Regions from separate parts of the Homo sapiens genome. Here region 1 is linked to region 2. The links are contacts of gene promoters, found by promoter capture Hi-C in human tissues and cell types (Jung and others, 2019). All regions are on one chromosome and are shown on one strand. Each heading gives the region's core, a stretch centred on a gene start or on the middle of the fragment in contact. The rest is flanking DNA. Distances are from core to core; before and after follow the strand shown.

The links. Contacts are between HindIII fragments. The study calls those that stand out against the background at their distance.
Region 1: a contact is called between a fragment that was not itself captured here and the fragment with the promoter of DNAAF2 in region 2, in 1 of the 25 tissues and cell types used here (hippocampus).

The regions. Positions count from the first base shown.
Region 1 is chr14:49,869,917-49,873,549 of GRCh38, forward strand. No RefSeq gene overlaps it. Among named protein-coding and RNA genes, the nearest start is that of NEMF, 19 kb to the left of the region's middle. The HindIII fragment of the contact is 9,165 bases long and covers 1-3,633 here.
Region 2 is chr14:49,633,839-49,637,725 of GRCh38, forward strand. DNAAF2 (dynein axonemal assembly factor 2) reads right to left here and starts at 1,406. Exons shown (of 3, transcript NM_018139.3): 1 at 1-1,406. The coding sequence starts at 1,311. RefSeq lists silencers at 1-237, 508-747, 978-1,027 and enhancers at 238-477, 290-1,050. The HindIII fragment of the contact is 16,157 bases long and covers 1-3,887 here.

The DNA.
Region 1 (3,633 bases), core at 862-3,361, 240 kb after region 2:
GAGGACATAATTTCTGAGTAGAAGAATGACTGGGTTAATGTCTAATTTTGCATGTCCTCTGGCCCCAGCCATGATTAGTATAAAAATCCTAGGGTTTCCCTAGGTCTAGGGGAAGATATTACTCTCCTCACCACCTCCACATAGAGTAATATCTTCCCCTAGACCTCCTCCCCTTATGAACAAATGGAGGAACATTGAGGCTGTAAATGGCCTTTTGAGGTTCATATGACAGTCTACTTTCACTTCTTTTATTTTAGAGGGGGAAATTTTAAGCTTTCATGGGTGTGGTTTAGACAGTTTTTAAATATTACTTTGTTGAGAGTTTATGATGTGGTGGTTGAACAAATAGCACCATAGGTACTTGCTAGGGGATACATTACACATACAGTATGTCATCACAATTCACATTGTTAATAATTAAAAATATATTCTGTTACACTATGGTTTATGTGTATGATTTTTTTTTTCCTGAGATGGAGTCTCACTCTGTTGCCCAGGCTGGAGTGCCGTGGCACGATCTCGGCTCACTGCAATCTCTGCCTCCTGGGTTCAAGCGATTCTCCTGCCTCAGCCTCCCGAGTAGCTGGGATTACAGACGTGCACCACTACGCCTGGCTAATTTTTTTTTTTTTTTTTGTCAGTAGAGACGGGGTTTCGCTATGTTGGCCAGGCTGGTCTCAAACTCCTAACCTGAAGTGAACCGCCTGCCTCGGCCTCCCAAAGTGCTGGGATTACAGGCGTGAGGCACCGTGACCAGGCAGTTTATGTGTATGATACATTTCTTTTTTGAGATAGAGTTTCACTCTTTTTGCCCAGGCTGGAGTGCAGTGGTGTGATCTTGGCTCAACTCAACCTCCACCTCCTGGGTTCAAGTGATTCTTCTGCCTCAGCCTCCTAAGTAGGTGGGATTACAGGCATGTACCACCACACCCAGCTAATTTTTTTTTTTTTTTTTGTATTTTTAGTAGAGACAGGGTTTCTCCATGTTGGTCAGGCTAGTCTCGAACTCCCAACCTCAGGTGATCCATCCGCCTAGGCCTTTCAAAGTGCTGGGATTACACGTGTGAGCCACCGCGCCCGGCCTATATGTATATTTTATGACCAAAGGAATTCACACTTTTCTCAGTGTTTGCTTTTAGGGCTAATGAACTGGAAAAGCAGTCCAATTTATACAGAGAATACTGAAGGCACAAGCTGCCTGTGTCTGTTCAGCTGAAACCCCTTGCTGACAAGGTTCTAATTCATTTTGTGACACAGCTCATTTTCCAAGGGGGAGTATAGCCTAGGGTGTGGCAAGAAACAAATAAAGGCAAAACCACTACACATTAGTTAGAATATTGTTAAAAGAGACAGTCTATAGTCACTGTGATGTATGGATAAACAATATTGCATATTACAAGAGTATTTGTATAATCAAAACCATTATATACAAATGCTATTATGATTTATCATTATAAAAACAAATATTAATGTTCTTGTACATTATAATAATAATATAAACTAGAAGAGTGATTTATCCCCTTTTGAGCATAAGATTTATTAAAATAGTAGGTCCCTTTGTGCATTCATTCATTCATTCATTAACTCTACATCATTAGTCATTGGGGAAATGCAATCAAAACCACAAGAGATACAATTTCTTACCTACTAGGATCACGAAAATAACAACAGCAAAACAGAAAATAACAAGTGTTGAACTGGGCAGGTGGTGCATGTCTGTAGTCCCAGCTACTCAGGAGGCTGAGATGGGAGGATCTGTTGAGCCGAGGAGTTCCAGGCCGGCCTGGGCAACATAGCAAGACCTCATCTGAAAACAATGAAACAAACAAAAACAACAAAGAAAAGAATAACAAGTGTTGGCAAGGATGTGGAGAAATTAGAACTCTCATACATTGCCAGCGGGAATGTAAAATAGTGCAGCTGCTGTGAAAAACAGTTTGACAGTTCCTCAAAAATGTAAACATACAATCACCATATGATTGAGTGATTCCACTCCTAGGTACAGACCCCACAAAGAACCAAAAGCAGGTACTCAAAGAGATACTCGCATTAATGTTTGTCACAGCACTATTCACAATAGTCAAAAGGTGGAAACAACTCAACTGTCCATCAACAGATGAATAAGTAAACAAAATGTGATGCATATTCATATTCAGCCATAAAAAGGAATAAGGTTCTGACGCATGCTACAACATAAATGAGCCTTGAAAACATGTAAAGTGAAATAAGCCAGACACTGAAGGACAAATAAATCCATTTGTGTGAAATCTGTAGAATAGGCAAATATGTAGAGATAGAAAGTAGACAGAGGTTGGGAATTAGGGTAGGGAATTAGGAATTTTTATCTTATCTTACTTTTCATTTTTTTGAGACAGGGTCCTACTCTGTCACCCAGGCTGGAGGGAAGTGGCTCACTGCAGCATTGAACTCCCCTGGCTCAGGTGATCCTCCCACCTCCAGCCTCCAAGGTAGCTGGGGCTACAGGTGTGCACCACCACACCTGGCTACTTTTTGCATTTTTTTTTTATAGAGATGGTGTTTCACCATGTTTCCCAGGCTGGAGTTATTACTTAATGGGTATAGAATTTCTGTTTGAGGTGTTGAAAAAGTTTTGGAAATAGTAGTGATGGATGTACAATATTGTGAGCGTAATTGATGCTCCTGAATTATACACTTGAAATGGTTGGCCGGGCGAGGTGGCTCACGCCTGTAATGCCAGCACTTTGGGAGGCCGAAGCGGGCGGATCACAAGGTCAGAAGATAGAGACCATCCTGGCTAACATGGTGAAACAACCCTGTCTCTACTAAAAATACAAAAAATTAGCCAGGCCTGGTGGTGGGTACCTGTAGTCCCAGTTACTTGGGAGGCTGAGGCAGGAGAATGGCATGAACCCGGGAGGCGGAGCTTGCAGAGAGCTGAGATCATGCCAATGCACTCCAGCCTGGGCGACAGAGCAAGACTCCGTCTCAAAAAAAAAAAAGAAAAAAGAAAAAAAGAAAAGAAAAGAAAGAAAAACAAAAAAGAAAAAAGAAATTGGTTAAAATGGCAAATTTTATGTTACATACATTTTAACAGTTGGGCATATCTGTGTGGGTTCATTTCTGGGTTCTCTGTTGTGTGTCACTGATCTGCTTATCCCTCCATCAAGATGACAAAGTCTTGATTACTAGCTATGTGATAAATATTAAAATTGGGTAGACTGATTCGTCCCACTTTTCTTTTTGAAAATTGTTTTAGCTATTTTAGTTCCTTTGCATTTCCATATAAATTTTAGAATAATCTTGTCTATATCTACAAAATAAATCTTGCTAGGATTCTGATAGGAATTGCACTAAACCTGGAGGAAATTGACATTTTTTTACCATGCTGAATCTTCCAATCCATGAACATAATGTATCTTCCCATATGTTTGGATATTATTTTATTTCTTTTGTGTTTTGTAGTTTTTGATATATACATTCTGTATATTTCAATTTTTTGAGTGAATACAAATATTGTATTTAAAATTTTAGTGTCCATGTGTTTATTGCCAGTATATAAAATACAGTTGATTATTATTATTATTATTTGTTTTTTTGAGACGTAGTCTCACTCTGTCCCCCAGGCTGGAGTGCAGTGGTACAATATCGGCT
Region 2 (3,887 bases), core at 156-2,655:
CTCCCCCGGCTTGGGGACACGCTCCTCTCCAGCTGCGGCCGGCGGAGGCGCCACCTCCGGGTCGCCCAGGGTGGTGACCCCGGAGCCCGCAGCCCCAGCCACGCAGGTATCGTGGCCTCCGTCCTCCGCGCGACTCCTCGCGGGTCCCGCCTCCCCCTCGCGAGCGGAAGCGCAGGCCTGGCCGTCAGTTCCGGACCGGTCCGCGGACTCTTCCGGCGCGGCGGCGGCGACGGCGACAGCGGGCTCCCGGCGCGCGGCCGGCAGCACCACTGGCAGCGTAACCACCAGCTGCCGCCGGGCCTTGTTGAATTGTGCCTTGCCGCGGCCATCGTCCACTGGGTACGGGAGCGAGAGCCGCAGCCGGTAGTCAGGTTTCCTCGAGTCGAGGCACAGCAGCTTTCTCGTTACCTCCAGCGCCGCCTGCTCGGCCGAGCGCAACAGCGGCAGTTCGATGGTGATCACCAGCTCATGGGGCACGGGGCTCGGGGCTGAGTCCCTGGAGCAGCGGTAATCCTGGAGGTCCACGTGGTGGCGCTGCACCACGCTGTAGCGAGGCTCGGTGGGGGCGGGCTGCAAGGCCGCTTCCGGAGGGGAGGGCGCCCGGGGCCCGGGGGCTGCCGGGTACTGGTAAGGGTAGGGGAAGTCCGGGAGAGGACCCTTCGGCTCCCCGTCAGGCCTTGCGGGGATGACCCCGGGCAGGGGCGTGCGCAGCACCGCAGCCTCTGGGGTCCCCTTATACTTGGCCTTCAGGGTCTTGGCATTCCTGCGGTCCAGCTTCACGCCGAACTGCTTCTCGACGGCCTCCAGGGCCGTGGCGTCCAGCATCTGGCGGAAGCCCTCGTGCCGCCGGGCCAGCGCAAGCGCGTCTGGATGGAAGACCACGTCGTAGACCATGTAGCGGCTGCTGCTGCGCCCCGCGTACTCGCGGCCGGGCGCCAGGCTGTAGGGCAGGGACCAGTGGCTGCCAGGAGCTGCGCCCCGGTCGCCACCGGAGCCGGGCCGGCTGCTGGGCGCGCCCACCAACGCGTTGCTGCAGACATTCACAAAGCAGCGCCGCGCCCCGTCCAGGCTGGTGCGCAGCACATGGCCGGGCTCCGGGTGCACGAACCGCACTTCCACCCCGCGCTCACGCTCTAGCGCGGTGATCTCCGCCTCGTAGCGCCGCCGGTTCTCCGGGTCGGTGAGCTCCTCGGCGTACTGGGAGAACATTCGCCGGAACTCCGGGTCCTGGAAGGCGGAGGTGAGCCGCTGGACCTCCTCTCCGCTCAGGTCCAAGTCCTCCAGCGACGAGGAGGCCGCCGCTTTGGCCATACTGTCCTGTGGCTCCTCGCCCTCGGGCCAAAGGCGATCAGTCTGACACTGGGTTGGGGGATCCGCCTCAGAGTTTCTGGGCAGCGTACAGTGACGCGGTGGAGGTCGGTAACGGCTGGAAAATTGAGCCTTGAGCAGCGCGTGCTTGTTGTCATAGTTACACCACTAACATTCGGGAGGAGGGGTAGAGATCATGGTGGAATAGGCCGGGCGCGGTGGCTCAGGCCTGTAATCCCAGCACTTTGGGAAGCCTAGGCGGGCGGATCACGAGGTCAGGAGATCGAGACCATCCTGGCTAACACGGTGAAACCCCGTCTCTACTAAAAATACAAAAAATTAGCCGGGCATGGTGGCGGGTGCCTGTAGTCCCAGCTACTCGGAAGGCTGAGGCAGTAGAATGGGGTGAAACCCAGGAGGCAGAGCTCTTGCGGTGAGCCAAGATCGCGCCACTGCACTCCGGCCTGGGCGACAGAGCAAGTCTCTCAAGGAAATCATGGTGGAATAGTGGAAATGCCAGAAATAGCCCTCTTAGATTCTTCAAACCAACCCACCACCGTACTTTGTTTTGTTTTGTTTTGTTTTTCTTTTTTTGAGACAGAGTCTCGCTCTGTCACCCAGGCTGGAGTGCAGTGGCGCAGTTTCGGCTCACTGCAAGCTCCACCTCCCAGGTTCACGCCACTCTCCTGCCTCAGCCTCCCGAGCAGCTGGGACTACAGGCGCCTGCCACTACGCCCAGCTAATGTTTTGTATTTTTACTAGAGACAGGGTTTCACCGTGTTAGCCAGGATGGTCTCGATCTCCTGACTTCGTGATCCGCCCGCCTCGGCCTCCCAGAGTGCTGGGATTATAGGATTACAGGCATGAGCCACCACACCAGGTCCAAAACCTTTTTTTTTTTTTTTTTTTTTTTGAGGCTGTCTCACTCTGTCACCCAGGCTGGAGTGCAGTGGTGCAGTCTTGGCTCACTGCAACCTCCGCCTCCCGGGTTCAGGCAATTCTCCCTGCCTCAGCCTCCCAGGTAGCTGGGATTACAGTGACTCACCACCACGTCCGGCTAAGTTTTGTATTTTTAGTAGGGATGGGATTTCACCATGTTGGCCAGGCTGGTCTCCCACTCTTGACCTCATGTGATCTGCCCACCTCAGCCTCCCAAAGTGCTGGGATTACAGGCATGAGCCACCGCGCCCGGCCTAAAACCTTTCTAATGTGCATATTTTTTTGACCCAAATGCCCTTAGAGTATTTGACACAATACTCTTAGAACATTCTCAAGGTGACATCATTTATGATTCTAAAGGTTTGAGAAGAATCTACAAATTCAACAATGGAACTGATTGAGCAGGTTTTGGTAGAGCCACGCAACAGAGTTTTGTGCAACCATTCAAAATGATCATATGGAAGTATATTTATTTACTGGAGTAATTATTTATTCATTGGTAATTGGTCAATTCAGTGATCATTTTTCTATTCTCAGCAACATTTAACACAGTTGATGTTGGCATTACCTCAGTGACAAGACACTTTCCAGATTTCTCTTCTGTCTCATCACTCTCATAGTTTTGCTCTGTAGGTATCTACTTCTTTTCAACTTCTACATGGAAATGCCCCAAAACTGGGACCCAATCTCTTACCCATCTATACTCTCCTTCAGAAATATATTTACACTCACAAATACTTGTCTTAGACTCAGATTTTACACTCCTATATCCAGCTGCACGTTTGAGGTGTCCATTTGAGTGATTAATGCATAAGCTACTCAGGCTTGAAATGACCAAGATCAGAACTCCTGAATCCTCTTTTCCCAAACCACTGCCTTATCTTATGGTCTCTTGGAAGCATTCAAAGCAGTTGACTGCCCCTTCGAAACACATTTTTCTCATGTTTTGCAGAACTCCAAGCTCTCCCATTTTCCTCCTTTATGCTCCTGCCAGTTCTGCAAATGTGGGAGTTGCCCAAGGCTTTGTTCATCAGCCCTCTTACCTAATCACATTTCTTCCAAGATGTCTTATCCAAGCCCATAGTTTTAAATGCCATCTGTGTTCAAATTAGTCCTTTCAACAGATATTTATTGTGTGCTTATTGCACTTATTATATAGGTAATTAACAAAGATGTGAAGCAGTTGCATTGCTTTTTTTTTTGAGACAGAGTCTTGCTCTGTCGCCTAGACTGGGGTGCTTTGGCGCGATCTTGGCTCACTGCAACCTCCGCCTCCTGGGTTCAAACAATTCTCCTGCCTCAGCCTCCCAAGTAGCTGGGATTGCAGGCACCTACCACTGCGCCCAGCTAATTTTTGTATTTTTTAGTAGAGATGGGATTTCACCATGTTGGTCAGGCTGGTCTCCAACTCCTGAGCTCAGGTGATCCGCCCACCTCGGCTTCCCAAAGTGCTGGGATTACAGGCACAAGCCACCATGCCCAGCCAGCAATTGCACTTTCATATCCTGGGAGTATATATTGGAACACTGTTAACATAAGGCTTACGACAATGAAATTCTCCCAGATACACATTCAACAGAAACACATATCCCCACCAAAACACATGTACTACAATGTGTGTATTCATAGCGGCACTATTT